Regions from separate parts of the Homo sapiens genome. Here region 2 is linked to region 1. The links are contacts of gene promoters, found by promoter capture Hi-C in blood cells and fetal thymus (Javierre and others, 2016). All regions are on one chromosome and are shown on one strand. Each heading gives the region's core, a stretch centred on a gene start or on the middle of the fragment in contact. The rest is flanking DNA. Distances are from core to core; before and after follow the strand shown.

Region 1 (2,764 bases), core at 136-2,635:
GGAATAACATAAAAGCACAGGAGTAAATGTGAAGCAAAGCTATATTTGTACAAAAGAGGAAGAAGATGCAGAAAAGGGAAGAAAAACACTTTTAGCAGAGTAAAGAAAAAAAAATGGAGGAGGAACAGAGACTTGCTTCTTCCAGAAACAAAAGCAAAAAACACTTCTAAGAAAATGTGGTCTCTTTACCCAAGGGGATATTATGAAAACGCTAAAGGGTACTCAGCTGACACTCCTATTGAGCGTTCTACTTTCTCTTCCAATGCCTTTGATACCGCTAGTCTTCACCTGTGAATTAAATGCAGGCTACAGATAACGCACTCAATCCCTGCACAACTACAATTGTGGTTGCCATCTTTGCCTGGAAACAAAAAACAAAAAAACCCACAACTCCCTAGATTCGGGAAAAAGGAGTAAATTAAGTTGGAAAGCCAGAAAACCACGCCTTGCTAAGTCGGGGGGATATGGCACAGGTTAACAAACGCCTCCTACCAAACTAAGGTTCCACTAAAGGTCTGGGAATAAGGGCAAAGAGATGTATAGCCTTATCGCGACCGCAAGGGTGGGGCCTTGCAGTGGGAAACAAAATAGAAGGCAAGCTATCCCGAGAGGTTTAAGGGGGCTGAGGACTCGGCTCTCGGGAGATCGCCCATCAGGCGGTGGACACGGGGCAGCTTCGAGAGGAAGGAGACAGTGGACTGCTGGAGGAATGTCCGCGAGAATACCGAGGCTGATGGAAATAGAAGATACCCACGGGCACAGGATTAAGAGTCAAAGGGAAGAAGAGAGGGACGGGGCCGAGCAGTCTGGGGGGCCCGGCGTGGGAGGCCGGAGCAGAGGCCGCTAAGCGCCGTCCGCAGCCAGCCGCCTTCTCCGGAGACGCATTCTCGGCTCCCGCACACTCAGCCCCCCGCCGCCCCTGCCCCGGCAACAACCGCGGGCGCAGCTGTTTCCGTCGGGCCAGGGACAGCGGGGGTAAAGGCAACCCTGGGGCTGGCGGGCAGCAGACTGGCAGCGCCCGTGTGTGTGTGCGGGGAGCCGATTCTGAGACCGCCAACGCCAGACTTTGCCCTTTCTTCCCCAACCCTCCTTTATCACCCAACTTCCCGGCCGGCTGGTGTCCGCTTCGACCGACGGATACCGCACCCCCCACAACGCCTCTCGCCGCCTCTTACCCCTCCCCCGACGCCCTGAGCTGAGGGAAAACAGGCCACCCGGACCGATCCCGAACCCGCCCGGGTGTCCCCGAATCGCGGACGCCACCCCCGCCCGAACGCTGGCACTCTCTCGGCGGCTCCCTGGCCCGCCCAGATGCAGCAAACTCCTCTCACCTGCATTGACGCCATGATGGAACCATCCCCCCAAGACCGGCGAGGCCAGAGACGCAGGGGGAGGAGCTGCCGTGCTCGCGTCACGCCGCGGGGGCTCAACATCCCGGGCGCGGGGGCGGGGTCTGCGATGGGAAGGGGATGGAGCGAGGGGATTGGCTGGCGCGCAGGGCGGACGGGAGGAGGGGCTACGGGGCGGGGCGAGGGCGCGGTAAATGGCGCTCTGAGTACTTTCTGTCTCAGTCCGGCTGGCCGCTCACGCGTCGGGCCCCCATTTACTCTCGTTACTGAGGAGACACGGCTCCAGTTTTGACCCGACTACGGTTGTTTTCTTCGTGTGTACCGCGAAATGCTGATGACGTCCGGTTCCGCGCAGTTTTTTTCCTATTTCGTTTCCAACCACAGTTGTGCGGTTCACAGATTTTTCCCTTGGGATGTGTTTTCCATACCTCCAAGCCCACTCTCAGAGCCTTGGGGCCCCATAAAACTTCATGCGCAGCTGCTTTCTGGTATTTGCAGACCTGGAAGGCTTCTCGTATTCTTAATTTGGGGAAGAGAGACATAGGTTTCCTTGTACAACGGGATGAGGATTTAAGAGCAGAACGACACTGATATTTTAAAGGCGAGGGTATTTAGATTTGTGGAGCTGAAACTTGCCTGAAAAGGGAGACAAAATTTGGAAGTTTGTTGTGTGCAGTTTCTGCCCCTTACCCCCGCCCTTCACTTTTAAACTGCGCATATATCAACAATAGTTACGGTTGTTGCAGCAGTCTAAATTTGATTATCAGAATTGACCCTAGGCATGAATTTTTTTTTAAATATACCAATGTCGTGTTATATACACTTATACCATTATGTCCAGACTTCTCTTAAGCATAGTTCGTGGTGGGCAGTTTTGTGGTCATTTAGGGATGAACTTGGGTAGGGAAAGCTGAGCATACATAATTTATTTTAGGAATGCACCAGTTCTGCCAACATTTATCAGAAGTCACGTTTTTAAAAAGCTATTCTGGAACTGAAGATGTCATTGGTTTATAAGAGGAAAATGGAAGCCAAAAGCTTACACCTCATGCTCTATCTTTAAAAATTAAGGTGGCAGACACAATGAGTAGAAGGCTTTTATGTTACCAGAATGAAGGCTTAAAATCTGTCATTTTATTGACTCGGCTTTCTTTTTAGAAATTTCTTTAAGATATAAAAGCAATGTGGAATATCACTCTTTCACACTCTTAAAATAGATTACGTTCTCTGGAACTTCTCTAATCTGAAATGTGTTCAAAAAGGAAAAAGATCTTTAAAATACGCCAGTTAGTCTATGGTATAATATTAAACACTATTCATCACTAGAGAAGTTATGGTGGTATACCCTCCCCTTTCTCAGATGTCCACCTTAATGCCAGAAATGAGCGGAGTTTCCCTTTGTTGTGCAAAATGAC
Region 2 (2,764 bases), core at 126-2,625, 3.1 Mb after region 1:
ATTTGTTAAGTTCACCATCTTATATGGATACAGTTCTTGGTGCCCCAGAATATTTATAAGTTCACCATCTTATATGGATACAGTTCGTGGTGCCCCAGAACAGTTACAATAGTAATAACAAAGATCACTGATCACAGGTCACCACTAAGAATATCATAATAAAAAAAAGTCTGAAATATTGCCAAGAATTACCTAAACGTTACACAGAGACACCAAGTTGAGTAAATGCTGTTGGAAAAAAAATTGTGCAGATAAACTTGATTGACTCGGTTTGCTACAAACCTTTAATTTGTAAAAGCAGTATCTGCAAACCAGAAGAAAGCACAGTAAAATATAACGAGGTGTGAACTAGGCTATACCAAGTAGGTTTGTGTGAGTACACCCTATGATGTTCGCACAATGATGAAATCATCAAACTATGCGTTTCTCAGAATGTACCCCCTTGATAAGCAACTCATAACTGCATCTCTTCCTCAGGTTCCTTAGTGATATTTAGTGAGAAACTGGTCAGAGTGAGTGGTTTGTCAGAAGAATCATCTATTTCAAGTTTCTTGTTTTTGGAGGAATTACACTTAAAAACATTCAGTAAAAACAGGAATTTTTAATGACTGCCAGAAAAGGAGACCTAAAACGGTCTTTAACCAATACAATATTTAACAATATTTATTATCAAAAAATTCTTTCTTATCCCTTCTGTTACAGTTTAACATTTTTTTCTTTCTTCTTTTCCTCCCCAGGCCTGGCCTCAGTGTAGATTAGGAACAGCTGGGTTTGCTCTCCTCCCTACGTAAGACTCTTTAATAGACCAAAAGACTATTATTAAACTGTTCTTCAGCCTTTGCTCCTCCAGATGAATAATTTCTCTCTATTTTTTGTTTTAGGTTTTATTTTCCAACATTTTAGTCATTTTTGTGACTTCTTTTAGTTGTAAACATAGAACAGACACTGTCTATTACACACCATAGTTCATTAAAGTGGAATACTTCTCCCATGCTCTACATTCTTCTTTAGGCATCTGTCACAGAGTGGAAAAAGCAGATTTAAAATCAAACAGGCCTGGGCTCAAGTTCTAGCTCTGTCACTTACTTGCTATGAGATCTTAAAAAACTTCATTAGCCTCGGATTCTTCTCCTAAAAGTTGGAAATAACAGCTACCTCACAAAGTTGTTGAGATTAAACCAGATAATGTTACGAAAGTGGTTTAGAAGCCATAAAGCAGTATTATTTATTACATTATTGTTGCTTTGGCTAGGGATGAGCATGAAAAGTAACAGGCCCCAAACTAATTTTGGCAAATCTCATTTCGAAAGACTGAAACCTTCACTGTTAGTTATAGTAATGCCTCAATCAACCTGTATCAAAATGTTTTTCCAGGAAATATTGACATCATTAAGACATAAATTGTGGCAGTTAAACCACAAACATAATGTCACCCTTATGTGTGCACGTGGGAGGGGCCAGGCAGGAGTGGGCAGAGATATGATGGTTCAGTGGAACTCACTGCCCACTTAACTTGCACCTTGTCTGAAAGGATATGACACAGTGTGGATAGAGAAAAGAGATGGGTTCCCGCATGACCTGCTCCTGTCATTATTTAGCCCCTATCAACATAGTTGTGCCTGTTATCTTGAAGTAAAGAAACCTCATGAATGCACACTTACAATATTTGACTCTAGGGTGCTTTGCTGCACACAACATGGTACAGGCAGTCCAAGACAAGCAACAAACTTGTATTCATCACCAGCATATTACATTCAGTTCTTCCTCATCACACATACTCCCACCCCACTCCTCTCTTTCTGGCAGGTACAGCTATTCTAGAATACTCTCTTTAGAAAAGGGCAGCAAAGGAGTAGAAGAAAATGATGAAATCAAAATAACTAGAAATTCAATTAACCCAATTATGGAATCTTCTTCCCTCTACAGCAGTACAACAAGATTTGTTATAATAGGTATGAAGCATAAATGCCATAAACGACTTTATATCACATAAAATTATTCCCAATATAGTGTAAGCAGTTTGTGTTTTAGTGAATTCTAATTCTCTGACAAATGGTTACTCAATGTAACAAATATATACTGGACACCTATCAAATACAAGGCATTCTCCTAGGTACTAGAGATTCAATCTAAATATTTAACTGTCAGCTAGCTTCCTTTTATTCAAGCATTTTAAAAGACATAGGAAATCAGGACTGGCCATTGATCTCTGAAGTGAAGAATGGATCCCAAAACGTGAAAACATTATAAAAGATCACAAAACTTTCCAGGGAGAAAAGAGGAAAATGGTATGTAAGGCAAGGGAACAGGCTGTGTGAAAGCCCAGAAATAGCAAGCTCCTGACCATAGCCTAGCTGGGACATACGGACATGAGTTGCACCATGAGCTACATCCTTGGTTATTTAACCCCCGTCAATGTGGCTGCATCTGTTATCTGGAAGGAGACAAGTCATCTGTCATGACCAAAGCAGGCTGGCAGGAGAGACTGGCTGAAGTGTCAACCTAGCCACATTGTAAAAAGAACCTGTGTTAAGGAAATTGTATTGATTCTGTAGGCATGAATAATCATTGAAGAGAAGAGACATAATGGGATATAAATTTCAAAAGATTAATCTGACGGCAGAGTTCAATAAAACTGAAGAAAAGAAAAACTGCCGTTCTGGGAGACCAGATTTATAGGATTCCTGCAACAATTCAGGGGCCTACCTATGATGCTAACAACTTCCCTGAAAAGTCAAAGTAATTTAACTTACTTAAGAACCAT

The links. Contacts are between HindIII fragments. The CHiCAGO score rates a contact against its expected background, and 5 or more counts as called.
Region 2: a fragment that was not itself captured here is called in contact with the fragment with the promoter of UBE2W in region 1 in 1 of 17 cell types (naive CD8 T cells); the score reaches 5.3 in naive CD8 T cells.

What each region holds. Positions count from the first base shown.
Region 1 is chr8:73,877,477-73,880,240 of GRCh38, forward strand. It overlaps UBE2W (ubiquitin conjugating enzyme E2 W), which reads right to left and starts at 1,386. Exons shown (of 6, transcript NM_018299.6): 1 at 1,332-1,386. The coding sequence starts at 1,346. LINC01617 (long intergenic non-protein coding RNA 1617) reads left to right here and starts at 1,506. Exons shown (of 3, transcript NR_147034.1): 1 at 1,506-2,764. RefSeq lists enhancers at 69-118, 595-1,472 and silencers at 859-1,118, 1,139-1,188, 1,329-1,618. The HindIII fragment of the contact is 3,471 bases long and covers 1-2,385 here.
Region 2 is chr8:76,990,652-76,993,415 of GRCh38, forward strand. All of the region lies in intron 1 of PEX2 (peroxisomal biogenesis factor 2), which reads right to left. Among named protein-coding and RNA genes, the nearest start is that of PEX2, 8.0 kb to the right of the region's middle. The HindIII fragment of the contact is 3,106 bases long and covers 1-2,764 here.